Linked DNA regions of Homo sapiens: region 1 is linked to region 2. Evidence: promoter capture Hi-C in human tissues and cell types (Jung and others, 2019). All regions are on one chromosome and are shown on one strand. The core of a region is centred on a gene start or on the middle of the fragment in contact, and the rest is flanking DNA. Distances in the headings are between cores, read along the strand shown.

Region 1 (3,900 bases), core at 1,080-3,579, 1.0 Mb before region 2:
CAAAACTCTGTTTTGGGTCTCCTGTTAAGGAGTTAAGAACTCTGGCACCCTAGAACATTCTGGTTGTTTTTAAAGGAAGGGATCAGATGGGTCTCTGGAACAGCTGGGCTTCTTTTGAATGCTTAGCCTGAGCTAAGGGGAGGGTGGAGCCTAGAGCAGGGAAAGGTCTGTCCTGTCAGGTGTCAGATAAGCTGAAAGGTCTCCTGGCTGCTGGCCTCACTAATGAGAACAGAAATTCTCACTTCTCGATATGAACTGGAAGGTCCCGGCTGCAGCCTGGGTTACCTGTGCCATCTGTATTTTAATAGAACGTCTATTTTAATAAGATCTTTGAGATGCACAGACAGAAACAGCATGTAAATCAATAGGTCACTGAAACAGGCCATCTGAAAACGAGATCTGCAAATGTGCCAGGAAGGGCTTTTGAGAGTGACAGCAATAAATGCCCCTTGTGGATGGCCAGAAGGTCCCCCAAGGGTATGGCCACATGGAGGCAGGACTCAGCCGTGGTGCAAGTGATGGGAACCGAGATGCCTGGCTTCCACATTGCAGCTCCTCTGACCCCCAGCCCCCTTCTAGAAAGGGCTGCCAGCCCTCTTGGTGGCATCTGCCCCTCTCTTTCCCCTCCATGAATGCAAATGCAAGCTGCAGTCCCTCCTTAAATGGATTGTGTCCCAAACGTTCATTCACTCATTCAGTTCACCTCCATCAATATGCGGGTGCCCTCCCTGCCTCCAGCAGCCCATGCTCCTGAAGCAGAGATCAACCATGGAATGTGAATCCAAGACAGAAGAGGGAGGTGTGGAGAAGAGGTGCAGGGAGCCCTGGAGGTCAGAAGAAAGGGGGACCGCCCAAGGAAGGCTGCCTGGAGTTGGTGGCATTTGAAGTGGGCCTCGGGGACTGGACAGGATGTCTGAAGGGAGAGATGGAGTGGGAAGCACATCCCCAAAGGAGACAGTGGAAGACAAGGGGCCAAGATAAAAAAACAGGGGCCCGCTCAGATCCCACCTTGGCTGTGGTGTGGATTCCCTGCTGGGGAACGTGGGAGATGAGGCTGTTAGGGCGGCCTGGGGCCATTTCGTGTTAGGTGTTGAATGCTGGGGAAAGAAGGGCAGGTCAGGCTGTGGGAGGCTTCCCTGCTCCCCGCCTCCCCTAGACTCAGGGCAGTTGGTACCCCAGTTAGAATACAAAAACAGAGTCAGTCAGTGTTATACATGAAACAATTCTGTAACATTTGTGTTATTGTGATTTTTATTAAATAGAGGTTTGGGGCCCAAGGGCCTTTGTGTTGGTGAGGCAGTAGATAATACCCCCAAATGTCCCTTCTGATTGGTAATTTATTTTATTTATTTATTTTATTTTATTATTTTTTGAGGCAGCATCTCCCTCTGTCGCCAGGCTGGAGTGCAGTGGTGCGATCTCGGCTCACTGCAGCCTCCGCCTCCCGGGTTCAAGCGATTCTCCTGTCTCAGCCTCCCGAGTAGCTGGGATTACAGGTGTCCGCCACCAGGTCCGGCTAATTTTTATGTTTTTAGTAGAGATGGGGTTTCACCACGTTGGCCGGGCTGGTCTCGAACTCCTGGCCTCAAGCGATCTGCCTGTCTTGGCCTCCCAAAGTGCTGGGATTACAGGTGTGAGCCACTGCACTCGGCCTATTTTATTTTTTATTTTAGAGATGGAGTCTCACTCTGTCACCCAGGCTGGAGTGCAGTGGTACAATCTCGGCTCACTGCAACCTCCACCTCTCAGGTTCGAATGATTCTTCTGCCTCATTCTCCCAAGTAGCTGGGATTACAGGTGCCCACTGTCATGTCTAGCTAATTTTTGTATTTGTAGTAGAGACGGGGTTTCACCATGTTGGCCAGGCTGGTCTCGAACTCCTGGTGTCGTGATTCCCCTCACCTTGGCCTCCCAAAGTGCTGGGATTACAGGTGTGAGCCACCGTGCCTGGCCTCTGATTGGTCATTTAGCTGATTTAGTCAAGAAACTTTTGGTTTGAAGTGGCAAGCCCCAATTCAAATTAATGTAAAGAAAAAATGAAGCTTTGGGGTTTAGGTAACTGGAAGGTTCAAGGGGGACGGATTCAGGCCTGGCTGGATCGAGAGCTCCAGTGGGGTCTTTGGACACTGGTTCTTTCACCCCGTCTCTAGGCTGTGCCTTCCTTTGGGTTGCCTTCGTCCTCAGGTACCTTATCCACGAAGATGGACGATGGCTGCCCTGGGCTGACCTTCTACCCACTTAGCAATACCAACAGGAAGAGCAAATCTGTTTCCCAATCATTTCAGCAGATGTCCCAGGGATGGCTCACCCTGGACAGAAAGTGAGTCACATACGCATCCCTGAACTTTGGCCAGAGGGGTGGGATACACTGATTCATGAAGTCTAGGTCTTACGCCCACCGCTGGTTCCCGGGATGCAGGGACTTGGCTGGGAGTATAGGAGGGATGGGTCACCTAAGGAAACCTGGCATGTTGCTCTCAGAAGCTCAGGGGATGGAAGCTGGGCAGTAAAAATGCCAACAGCTGTCCACTCTGCTGGCCCTAGTGGCTTAGTTGATGCTGATCTTGGCACGGTCTTGTCAACTTGGCTGGTGGCTGCAGCTGCTGGTACCCTCCCAGACGCAAGGAGGCTTCCTTCTGCCTTGGCTGGATGAGGTGTGCTTTCTTCTTCACGGATGCAGCTCGCGGGATCCCCAAGCCTTTGGTAGTAAACACACTTCCTGGGCTGTCTTTTCTCTGAGTCCATTCTGAACATCAAAGCATTCAGCCTGTGACCGCGCTGGACCTGGTCTGAGAGGACAGCCTGGCTTTGCTCGGGGTTGGCTCTCGGCTCTGGGATTGGATAATGTGTCCCCTTCCTGTTTTGCTTATGCTTTGTGGCACCCAGCTGCCCTCCACCCCAGCAGGTCCGGATTCCTTGAATACAGATTGCCCCTCCTTCCAGACGTCTGGCCAGTGGATGCTTTTGGTTACGAGGCCCTGGCTGAGAGAAGGGCTGGCTCTCTGCTATCCATCCCCCTGGTGGAGGGCCAGGCCCAGAGGAAGTCTCAGAGGTCTTAGAGATAGGCACCTCTAGATGGCAAAAACACGACTGCAGAAGGGCAGAGGAGCGGCCTCAGGAAAAACCCAGGGGGATATATGATCTTGAACGTACATGGTGTCGAAACTGCGGCCCTTGGCTTTCCCATGTGTGAAATGCGACTAAGACTAATGAAAGTCTTTTATGTGTGTAGGCAAAAATCTTATTTAGCAATTCCTCTACCAGGTGCAATTTTTTTTTTTTTTTTTTTGAGATGGAGTCTTGCTCTGTCACCCAGGCTGGAGTGCAGTGGCACGATCTCAGCTCAGTGCAAGCTCCACCTCCCAGGTTCAAGCTATTCTCTTGCCTCAGCCTCTCGAGTAGCTGGGATTACAGGCATGTGCCACTACGCCTGTCTAATTTCTGTATTTTTTAGTAGAGACAGGGTCTCACCATGTTGGCCAGGCTGGTCTCGAACTCCTGACCTCAGGTGATCTGCCTGCCTTGGCCTCCCAAAATTCTGGGATTACAGGTGTGAGCCACTGTGCCCGGCCAGAACAGATAGTGTTTAATTCCACTTTGTCTGTGTCTGTTTGAGCTGCTATCACAAAATACCATAGACTGAGTGGCTTAAACCAACATTTACTTCTCCCACTTCTGGAAGCTGGAAAGTCCAAGTTCAGGGTACTGGCAGATGGGGTGTCTCATGAGGGCTCAAATCCTGCATCACAGACAACCGTCTTCTCGCCATGTTCTCACATAGCGAAGGGGCAAGGGAGCTCTCAGGGGCCTCTTTTCCAAGGCACTGATTCCATTCATGAGGGCTTCACTCCTCCTGACCCAATCACCTCCCAAAGGCCCCTCTTCCTCATACCACGGCAG
Region 2 (3,966 bases), core at 762-3,261:
TGGCCTTCCAGGAACTCGGAATGTCATGGATAGAGGAGCAGAAGTGGCCTCAGACTGGGGGCAAGGTTGGGGGGGGGGTCACAGGCTAGGGAGCAGCCAGGGACATGGACGCCTGGGATGCAAGCACAAATAGTCACGGAGCACCTGCTGTCTGCCAGACTCTGTGCAAGCCTGTGTGGGGAGATACAGCAGTGAACCAAAAAGACCAAGTCTCTGCTCTCATACAGTTTAATTTCTCGTGGGGGCAAGAAGCAACAAACAAGAAAGCCAGTGATTCAGATATGATATGTCAAGTGGTACATATAGGAAGAAAAATACAGCCGAGTAAGAAGGATCAAGAGAAAGGGGCTGGGAGATGCTGCTGATACAGTGTAGTTGAGGAAGGCCTTTTGGGAGCAGGACTGGAGCAGACACCTGAAGGAAGGAAGGGGCAGTAGGCAGTGTAGTTATCTGGGGAAGAGCATTTCAGGTGCAGGGACCAGCAGGTGCAAACGCCATGAGGGGACAGTGCTTGCTCAGTATGAAGAACAGCAGGGAGGCTGACGTGGCTGGAGTGGAGTCTTCCCCACATAAGAGGCACCTGATAGCAAGAGGAGTTACATCTGGAGAGAAAGCCCCCTCACTCATTGTGCTGGCCTCAGGGATGGCTTCCTAGAGGAGGTGGCACCTGAGCTCTCTTCTGAGCACTGAGCAGGATTTCAGGATGAGGCGAGGATGGAAGTTTGCACTGTGCATATAGGAGAGTCATTTCCTGGCTGGGACTCCGGGCTTGGTTTGGGGGTGGGGAGAGCTTGGTGGACAGAGCCCAGGAGGCCCCCAAAGCCAGGGGGAGGTTGTGAGCAGGGGAGTGCCTCGGTTAGGTGAGGTTTAAAACGACTCCCATGGCTGCTGTGAGGACTGACGGTGGGAGACCGAGGAAGAGGCGAAGGGTCCCCAGAGTGTGTGCGCCTGGGACGCAGTGGGGGGTCAATTTGTATGTACTGGAGGAAAGAGGGCAGGGCTTGGGGAGGCCAGCGCCACTTCCCTGGGATCCTCCAGCGCGCACAGGCTGTGTGCCCCTCCCACACTCCTGTGCCCGCCCTGCGGACACCACCAAGGCCCGGTCCTGTGGCCTGTGACACAGCCTTCTCTGCACAGCCCTGCAACGCCAAGACTTGAGCACACCCCCTCCCCTGACAGGCACACGCCCGTGTCCGCGTGACCCGCCCTCACACACCACTCCATCCTGTCCTGCACCCCCCACGCAGACACAGGCACACTCCCGCGTCCACGTGACACACGCACACCCGCCTCCAAACAGCACACGCAGGTCCCTGCGCACGTGGACACCCCCCCAGCCACCAGCCCTGCGCCTCCCGGGCCCCGAAGCCGCAGCGCCCGCCTCTGCCGCCCCCTCTCGCCCCAGCCAAGGCAGGACCCTGCGCAGCCTGAGCCGCGCGCCGCCGCCGCCCCATTCATCTCCCACCCCGCCCCCGGCTCCTGCAGGAAGACGCTCCGGCGGGCCGTGGGAGGAGCGCTCCGCGGAGAACCGCACGTGGGTGCCCCGGGCCGGGCCCACTCCGCACAGACGTGGCCTCCACCAGGAGCCGGGCGCGGGGGACAGTGCACCGGGGATGGATGCGGTCCGCAGACAGAAGCGGGGAAGAACGCAGACGGCGGGGCACCCGCGGCGATGCGGTCCCGGCGGCCGGCGCAGACCCGAGCAGACTCCGCGAGGCACCCCGCAGACCCGGCCCCGCAGACAGAAGGGGAAGGATCCCCGCCCTGACCAGATCCCAGCTCCCTCGTAGACGCGGCCTGGCAGACCCCCCCCGCCTCTCCCTTGCAGGCTCGGGGCAGGTGTTAAGGCGTTCGTCCTCCTGCTCCTCGCCCGCGTCCCCGCCCCGCCGATCCCTACCTGGGCGCCGGGCGACAGTGTCCGCGGCCCGGCGGGCGGCCCCACTCGCTCCTGCTGCGCGCCCCGCCCCGCCCCGCCCCGCCCCACCGCCTCGCTGGGGCCCAGATCGCCGAGCTCAGCCCGCGGGCGCCGCGGCTCCGGGCAGCGCTCGCTGCCCCGCCCACCGCCGCGCCCGGCCGGCGCTCATTGGTCGGAGCGAACGGCCCCGCCAGCGCCGCCCAATCGGAGCCCGGGACTCCCGCCCCCTCCTGGACTAAGGGACCGCGGTGGGCGGCGCGGTAGGGGCCCTCCCTCCCCTGCGGCGGGGCCGACCTCGCCACGCCCCCGGCGTCCTGGGGTCCCCGAAGTCCCTCCCGGCCGCGGCGTGGGCCCTTCTCCTGGGCCTGCAGGGGACCGTGCTTCCCCGCCAAACCCTTTGCGCCCCCATCCCGGCCTGCAGGAGCCAGAGCGCCCCTCCCTCCCGGGCGAGGCGCGGTGCGTGCGAGGGAGGGGCGAGGCCCGGGGAGGAAGGCCTTGAATGGCAGGCCCAGGAGTGTAGCTTCTGCGGGGCGGGGGCAGAGAGGCCGAGAGGTGGCTTAGCACAGAGTGAAGTGCTTGCTCGGTGAGCCGGCGACAGGAATGGCCTAGCGAGGGCCGAGGGAGTAGAGGGAACTCAGCAGGACAGTGAGGTGACCTTCGCTGTGGCTGTTCCTGGGGACTCTGCCGCCACCTCTTCCCCTAACGCCTCCGCGTGTGAATCCTCTGGCACCACCACTTGCCCCATATCCTTCCCCCAAATCTAACCTCCTGCGTCCCTGTCTCGAAGTGGAGCCAGGAGCCTGGGAGTCACCTGCTGCCTCCCTGTTTCCTGCTCCAACCAGTCCATCTCCAGGCCCTGCCATACTGCCTCTTAACTATCCCTGGAATCGGCCCACTCCTCTCCACCCCACTTCCCCTCCCTTAGCTCAGGCTACCACCATCTTGTCCCTGATTGCTGCAGCAGCCTCCTCCCTGGCCTCCAGCCCCATCCAGTCTCACCTCCTACTAGCCTTTCTCTCCCTGGCACCCAGAGCAAGTTTTCAGGAACACAAGTCCACCGAGAGGCATTTTCTATGGCTCACCGTGAGAATAGGTCTAATCAAGCCCTGTATAGCCTTACTCCCAGCCACCTGCCTGTTTAACGCCTACTCGTCTTTCAGGGTTCAATTCAATCCTACTTCTGCCTGGAAACCTTCTCCATGACCTCCCCACTTCCAGCATGGGTTAGTGGCCCCACCCAGGTACTTCCTTGTACCTGGCATCTGTTTACCTGCTGGTTCCTCATTGGGACTGGGAGCTCCTGGATGGCAAGCACTGTGCCTGATTCGTCCAGCACACAGCCTGTCGCATGGCACAGGTGCTCAGTGGATGTTGTTGAATGAATAATTCCAGCAACTTGAGTGTGGCTTTTGACCTCATGGTTCAGGATACCAGCTAGAGCTCCAGCAATCACATAACGCATTCCAGGCAGTGGAGTGGAGAAAAGGATGAAGAAGAGGGCAGAGGGTCTGCACCAGCTCTCTTTTCAGGAAAGTTCCCAGAAGTTGCCACGTGGCACTTTCACATACACCGCTTGAGCTTACTTAACATGACCAGACCCAGCTGCAAGAGAAAGCTGGGAAATGCAGCTTCCATTCTGGGCAGCCACATGCCCAACCAAGAACCAAGGACTGAATTGCTACCGGGAGAACAGATATCCGGAACAACTAGTGGACTCCACCATTGAGAGGGTGGATAGATTGAGGGGCAGAGCTCGACTGTATGCCAGGTGCTGTTTACAGGTCTTTCCTCAACCCTACTAAAAGCTATTATTGTCCGGGTGCAGTAGCTCATGCCGGTAATCCCAGCCCTTTGGAAGGCTGAGGTGGAGCGTATCATTTGAGCCCAGGAGTTTGAGAACAGCCTGGTCCACATAGTGAAACTCTGTCTCTATTTAAAAAAAAAAAAAAAAAGAAGTTGTTATTATCCTTGACTCACAGAGGAGGCTTGGAGAGTTAAGCCACTTCCCCCAAGGACACACAGTGAACTGTGGCAGAGCTGCAATTGAAACC

Evidence for each region. Contacts are between HindIII fragments. The study calls those that stand out against the background at their distance.
Region 1: a contact is called between a fragment that was not itself captured here and the fragment with the promoter of CAMKK1 in region 2, in 1 of the 25 tissues and cell types used here (pancreas).

What each region holds. Positions count from the first base shown.
Region 1 is chr17:2,865,247-2,869,146 of GRCh38, forward strand. All of the region lies in intron 2 of RAP1GAP2 (RAP1 GTPase activating protein 2), which reads left to right. Among named protein-coding and RNA genes, the nearest start is that of RAP1GAP2, 71 kb to the left of the region's middle. The HindIII fragment of the contact is 4,532 bases long and covers 64-3,900 here.
Region 2 is chr17:3,891,042-3,895,007 of GRCh38, forward strand. It overlaps CAMKK1 (calcium/calmodulin dependent protein kinase kinase 1), which reads right to left and starts at 2,012. Exons shown (of 16, transcript NM_032294.3): 1 at 1,898-2,012. RefSeq lists silencers at 1,319-1,568, 1,709-1,888, 1,919-2,458. The HindIII fragment of the contact is 23,333 bases long and covers 1-3,966 here.